Regions from separate parts of the Homo sapiens genome. Here region 2 is linked to region 1. Evidence: promoter capture Hi-C in human tissues and cell types (Jung and others, 2019). All regions are on one chromosome and are shown on one strand. Each heading gives the region's core, a stretch centred on a gene start or on the middle of the fragment in contact. The rest is flanking DNA. Distances are from core to core; before and after follow the strand shown.

The links. Contacts are between HindIII fragments. The study calls those that stand out against the background at their distance.
Region 2: a contact is called between a fragment that was not itself captured here and the fragment with the promoter of PLK1 in region 1, in 1 of the 25 tissues and cell types used here (dorsolateral prefrontal cortex).

The regions. Positions count from the first base shown.
Region 1 is chr16:23,677,629-23,680,579 of GRCh38, forward strand. PLK1 (polo like kinase 1) reads left to right here and starts at 1,261. Exons shown (of 10, transcript NM_005030.6): 1 at 1,261-1,712; 2 at 2,456-2,624. The coding sequence starts at 1,305. The HindIII fragment of the contact is 4,791 bases long and covers 1-1,897 here.
Region 2 is chr16:24,526,750-24,529,991 of GRCh38, forward strand. No RefSeq gene overlaps it. Among named protein-coding and RNA genes, the nearest start is that of RBBP6, 11 kb to the right of the region's middle. The HindIII fragment of the contact is 3,801 bases long and covers 1-3,242 here.

The DNA.
Region 1 (2,951 bases), core at 11-2,510:
ATGCTTATAGTATGGTTGATTTTTGCTGGGCTCTATGAAGGATCAGAGGGTGCTAAGGAGGCACAGAGAAAGAGCTTTTAACGTGGGTATTTTACTGTTCCAGGGTTGCCACTCAAGTACCTACAGAACAAACGGGTGTAGCTGTAAACTGTGGCAAACTGAAAGCATGTAGGCACAGAGTAAGTAGCTAGAGCTGATTTTTTTCAGGAAAGGCCACAAATCCCAACTTTTATGAGCTCCTCTTTTAAATGCTGTAAATGTTTTACAATGGCGGGGCGCGGTGGCTCACGCCTGTAATCCCAGCATTTGGGAGGCCGAGGGGCAGATCACTTGAGGTCAGGAGTTCAAGACCAGCCTGGCCAACATGGTGAAACCTCTTCTCTACTAAAATTACAAAAATTAGCCGGGCATGGTGGTGCATGCTTGTAATTCCAGCTGCTAGGGAGGCCGAGGCGGGAGGATTGCTTGAACCCGGGAAGCAGAGGTTGCAGTGAGCTGAGATCGTGCCACTGCACTCCAGCCTGGGCGACAGAGCAAGATTCCGTCACACACACAAAAAAAAGGCGTGGGGGGAGGCCAAACAAAACCCCGCAAGACACATTTGGCTATGACCTGCCAGTTTGCTAGGCATTCTTCCAACCTTCCCTCCCTCTGACCAAGAAACTGAGTGTCCACTATTTTAGGCCCTGGGAAATTCAGTAGCGAGGAGGCCAGACAGCTTCGTTGCATCATGGGGGGCTCTGGTACTGTGCTTCTCCAACTTCAGGATGTGTAGGAATCACCTGAGCAGTCTTGTTGAGAGGCGGACACTGACTCGGGAGGTCTGGGGTAGGGCCTGAACGTTTGCCTTTGCGGTTCTAACAAGCTCTCAGGTGATGGCGATGCTACTGTTCCCTGGCCCCGAGGTAGAGGAAGATTTAAGTAAAAGCTTCCTGGAGGAGGCGCAAGTGAACCGCAGGAGCTTTCCCGGACGCCCGAGAAAGGGAGAAACCCCGAAGGAATTCCTCCTCTCTCGGGGCTGGGTCTCCGCATCCACGCCGGGTTTGGTTTCCCAGGCTATCCCACGTGTTCGGGCGTCCGTGTCAATCAGGTTTTCCCCGGCTGGGTCCGGGTTTAAAGGCTGCTGCTGCGCAGGGCGCTCCCATGGTGCCGCGCGGCGGGCGGGTTTGGATTTTAAATCCCCGCGGCCAATCAGTGGCGCGCAGGCTTTTGTAACGTTCCCAGCGCCGCGTTTGAATTCGGGGAGGAGCGGAGCGGTGCGGAGGCTCTGCTCGGATCGAGGTCTGCAGCGCAGCTTCGGGAGCATGAGTGCTGCAGTGACTGCAGGGAAGCTGGCACGGGCACCGGCCGACCCTGGGAAAGCCGGGGTCCCCGGAGTTGCAGCTCCCGGAGCTCCGGCGGCGGCTCCACCGGCGAAAGAGATCCCGGAGGTCCTAGTGGACCCACGCAGCCGGCGGCGCTATGTGCGGGGCCGCTTTTTGGGCAAGGGCGGCTTTGCCAAGTGCTTCGAGATCTCGGACGCGGACACCAAGGAGGTGTTCGCGGGCAAGATTGTGCCTAAGTCTCTGCTGCTCAAGCCGCACCAGAGGGAGAAGATGTCCATGGAAATATCCATTCACCGCAGCCTCGCCCACCAGCACGTCGTAGGATTCCACGGCTTTTTCGAGGACAACGACTTCGTGTTCGTGGTGTTGGAGCTCTGCCGCCGGAGGGTGAGTGTCGCTGCTGGGGAACTGGAACTGCCTGCGGGGCAGTTGGAGCGCCCAGACCTGGAGCTGCTGGAAAGAGTACCCAGCAAGGGAGAGCCTGGGACTTGGAGCTGCTAGAGAAGGGTGCTGGGAGCCTCCCGCTTACGTATGGAAAGTGTCTTTGGTAAGGGCTTCTTGGCTCTGGGAGCTGCTAGAGGAGGGGGTTCCAGTGAAGTGGAGTCTGAGTCATGTTGCTGATAGGGAAGTCAGCTTCTGGACGCGAGGTGCTGGGGGGAGGGGTGCTGGTAATGGACGCTAGGGCCCTGGAGTACCCAGGGAGGAGTCCCAGGTTAGTGATGCCGCGCCCTGGGAGCTTCTGGGGTGGAGCTGGGTCAGTGGGGGGGTAGTTGGAGCCAGACTTCGGGCCTTCCGGGGGAGATACGAGTCAGGAAAGGGATCTGGTGCTGGGGACTCGGAGCTTCCGGAGTGGGGCTGAGAGAGGACCCCCAGGTAAGGGGGGAAGCTAGTAGGAGAAGGGGTGCTGCGAATGGTTGTGGACAGTGTTAAGGCAGGGTCCAGATGCCGCTGTGCTGGAGAAGGAATGGGGTGGGGGCATAGGGAAGGAGAGAAACCCACCAAGACCCCTCTTTCATCCCTTGGGAGTCCAGAGTCCAGTCCTGTGCTTCCTTTGCCTGGTAACCCTCTCCCTTCCCCACCGGCCTCAATCCACCTCCCCATCCCTCCTGCCCTCTCCTTCCCACCCACAGTCTCTCCTGGAGCTGCACAAGAGGAGGAAAGCCCTGACTGAGCCTGAGGCCCGATACTACCTACGGCAAATTGTGCTTGGCTGCCAGTACCTGCACCGAAACCGAGTTATTCATCGAGACCTCAAGCTGGGCAACCTTTTCCTGAATGAAGATCTGGAGGTGAAAATAGGTGAGTTGCTGAGCCTGCAGGGGTGCTTGACATCACTACAAGAGGCTGGAATTTGGAGGAGGCTGGGAGAAAGGAAGGAGACAACCCACAAGTCAGTATCTTGCCTACAGATGCATTATTTTTTTGTGCCCCAATGCAATATTTTTTTTTTACAAAGAATTTGAATTTGTTTTTATTTTTTAAATTGGAAGGTTTGATTGAACAAAAAGTTTGATTCAGAACTCCTTTTAAACAGGTGAAAGCTTCAGTAATACGAGGACAGCATTTTCTTAGGGCAGCCCTTTGCTGGGCTGGAAAACAGCTGTCCCCTTCAGACTTCTTTGCCAC
Region 2 (3,242 bases), core at 391-2,890, 850 kb after region 1:
TGGGAAGCAGAGGTAGGAGGATCACTTGAGCCCAGGAGTTTGAGACCAGCCTGGGCAATATAGTGAGACCCCACCCGTACAAAAAATTTAAAAATTAGCCAGGAGTGGTGGCACGTGCCTGTGGTCCCAGCTACACAGGAGGCTGAGGCAGAAGGATCGCTTGAGCCGAGGAGGTTGAGGCTGCAGAAAGCTGTGGTTGTGCCACTGCACTCCATCCTGGGCAACACAGCAAGACCCTGTCTCAAAAAACAAACACACACACACACACACACACACACACACACAAACACCACCAGCTAATGCCATAACCGTAAATAACTAGATCAGCCAAATTTAATCTGGATTAATCTAATCAGAGTAATCTAATCTTAACTAGATTTAGGGAGCTAGCCTAATTATTGTTTCTTTGAAAGGAACTACATTTTTCTGTCTGAATGTTTATAAGATGCTTTGCTGGCAGTCGGTTCGTGGAGGGGGGGAGAGAAGGAAACTCAGGAAAACATAAATGAATTAATCATAATCCTAATGTCGTAACACCTCATCATCATTGCCCTAGGCATGACTCTCTGTTAGTTTAATTATTTTTTCTTTATTTATTTATAGTAAAATAATGAACACTTGTGAACTCACTCACTCACCCAAGAACAACATCATTACCAACAACTCACATCTCTGGGAGGGGACATGGAGGGATCGGATGGTTTCCTCCTATCTCATCTTTCCATCTCAGAGGTAATCACCATCCTGAATTTTGTTTGTTTGGTGGGGGTTTGTTTGTTTGTTTGTTTTTGAGACATAGTTTCGCTCTTGTTGCCCGGGCTGGAGTGCAGTGGCACGATCTCAGCTCACCACAACCTCTGCCTCCTGGGGGGTTAAATGATTCTCCTGCCTCAGCCTCCCAAGTAGCTGGGATTGCAGGCATGTGCCACCATGCCCAGCTAATTTTGTATTTTTAGTAGAGACGGGGTTTCTCCATGTTGGTCAGGCTGGTCTTGAACTCCCGACCTCAGGTGATCTGCCCGCTTCGGCTTCCCAAACTGCTGGGATTACAGGCATGAGCCACCGCGCCCGGCCTTTTTTTTTTTTTTTTTTTTTTTGATACAGAGTCTCACTCTGCCACCCAGGCTGGAGTGCAGTGGTGCGATCTCAGCTCACTGCAGCCTCTGCCTTCCGGGTTCAAGTGATTCTCCTGCCTCATCCTCCGGAGTAGCTAGGATTACAGGCAAGCACCACCACACCCCACTGATTTTTGTATTTTCAGTAGAGACAGGGTTTCACTATTTTGGCCAGGCTGGTCTCGAACTCCTGACCTCTAGAGATTCGCCTGCCTCAGCCTCCCAAAGTGCTGGGATTACAGGTGTGAGCCACCATGCCCAGCCCCTGAATTTTGTGTTGTTTAGTCACCCTTTTAAAAGAAGTATTAAGGTCTAAGTGCCATGGCTCTTGCTTGTAATCCCAGCACTTCCAGAAGCCAAGACAGGAGGATCCCCTGAGGCCAGGAGTTCAAGACCATTCTGGGCAACGTAGTGGGACCCTGTCTCTAAAAAAAAAAAAAAAAAAAAAAAAAATTAGTTAACTGAGTGGGTCCTAGCTACTCAGGAGGCTGAGTCAGGAAGATTGTTTGAACCCAGGGCAACAGAGCGAGACTCTGTCTCTAAAAAAAAAAAAAATTAAATTAAAAAGAGGTATGCCTAGCTAAATAATGTATTGCTCAGTTTTATGCGTCTTTGAAATTCATTAAAAAGTTATGTCATCTTTGGATACTTGCTTTGTGGACCCAGATGAGCTAAAAAGATTTCACCACCATATTATTACATGTAGCTATATTTCATTTATTTCACTGCTGTATGATATCCCATTATCTGGATAGACCACAACAACAATCTTTTCTTGTTGATGGGTGTTTGGGTTGTTTCCAGCTTTTTTTTTTTTTTTTTTTTTTGAGACTAGGTATCACTCTGGCACCCAGACTAGAGTGCAGTGGGATTATCATAGTTCACTGCACCTTCAGCCTTCTGGGCTCCAGCAATCATCCCACTGCAGCCTCACAAATAACTGGGACTACAGGTGAGCACCACCACGCCTGGCTAATTTTTGCATTTTTTGTAGAGATAGGATTTCACCATGTTGCCCAAACTAATGTAGAACTCCTGAGCTCAAGTAATCCTCCTCCTGCCTTGGCATCCCAAAGTGCTGGGATTACAGTTACAGGCACGAGCTACCATGCCCAGCCTTTTTTTTTTTTTTTGAGACAGGGTCTCCCTCTGGGCACCCAGGCTGGAGTGCAGTGGTGGCCTCCCGGGCTCACGCAATCCTCCTGCATCAGCCTCCTGAGTAGCTGGGACTATAGGTATGTGTCACCATGCCAAGCTTTCCAGATTTTTGTCTTAAAAAGACAGCTTCCATGAATTCTTGTGCAAGTATAGTTAAATTTTACCTCGGGTATAGAATCAAGAATAGAATTACTGATTCATAGGGTAAAGGAATGCTCAAAGTTGCTAGAATTAAATTTTACCATGGGTATATAAGCAAGAATGAAATTACATAGAGTATAGGAGTGTTCAAATTTGCTAGAAAATGCCAAATTGTTTCCCAAAGTGATCGTTCCAATATATATCCCATCACTGGGATACATCCCCCACCAGTGATGGAATGTATATTGGAATAATCACTTTGGGAAACAATTGGTCTGGTCTCCAACTCTCACACATGGTATTGTCAAACTTTTAAATTTTTCAAATTGAATGAGTTTTGAATTAAATGAATAGTGGGAAAACAATGGATTTCTCACATCAATTTTCGGAAAATCTATTCATATGATGACTTAATTTATTACTTTACATTTCTACAAATTGAATTTTTTTTTTCTTTTAGGAGACAGGGTCTCATTTAGGCCTGGCGCAGTGACTCACGCCTGTAATCCCAGCACTTTGGGAGGCCAAGCAGGCAGAGCACTTGAGGTCAGGAGTTGGAGACCAGCCTGGCCAACACAGTGAAACCCCATGTCTACTAAAAATATAAAAATTAGCTTGGCGTGGTGGTTCATGCATGTAATCCCAGCTACTCAGGAGGCTGAGGCAGAAGAATTGCTTGAACCTGGGAAGCAGAGGTTGCAGTGAGCCAAGATCACGCCACTGCACTCCAGCCTGGGCAACAGAGGGAAATTCCATCTGAAAACAAAACAAAACAAAACAAAACAAAACAAAACAAAACAGGGTCTTGCTCTGTCTCCCAGGCTGGAG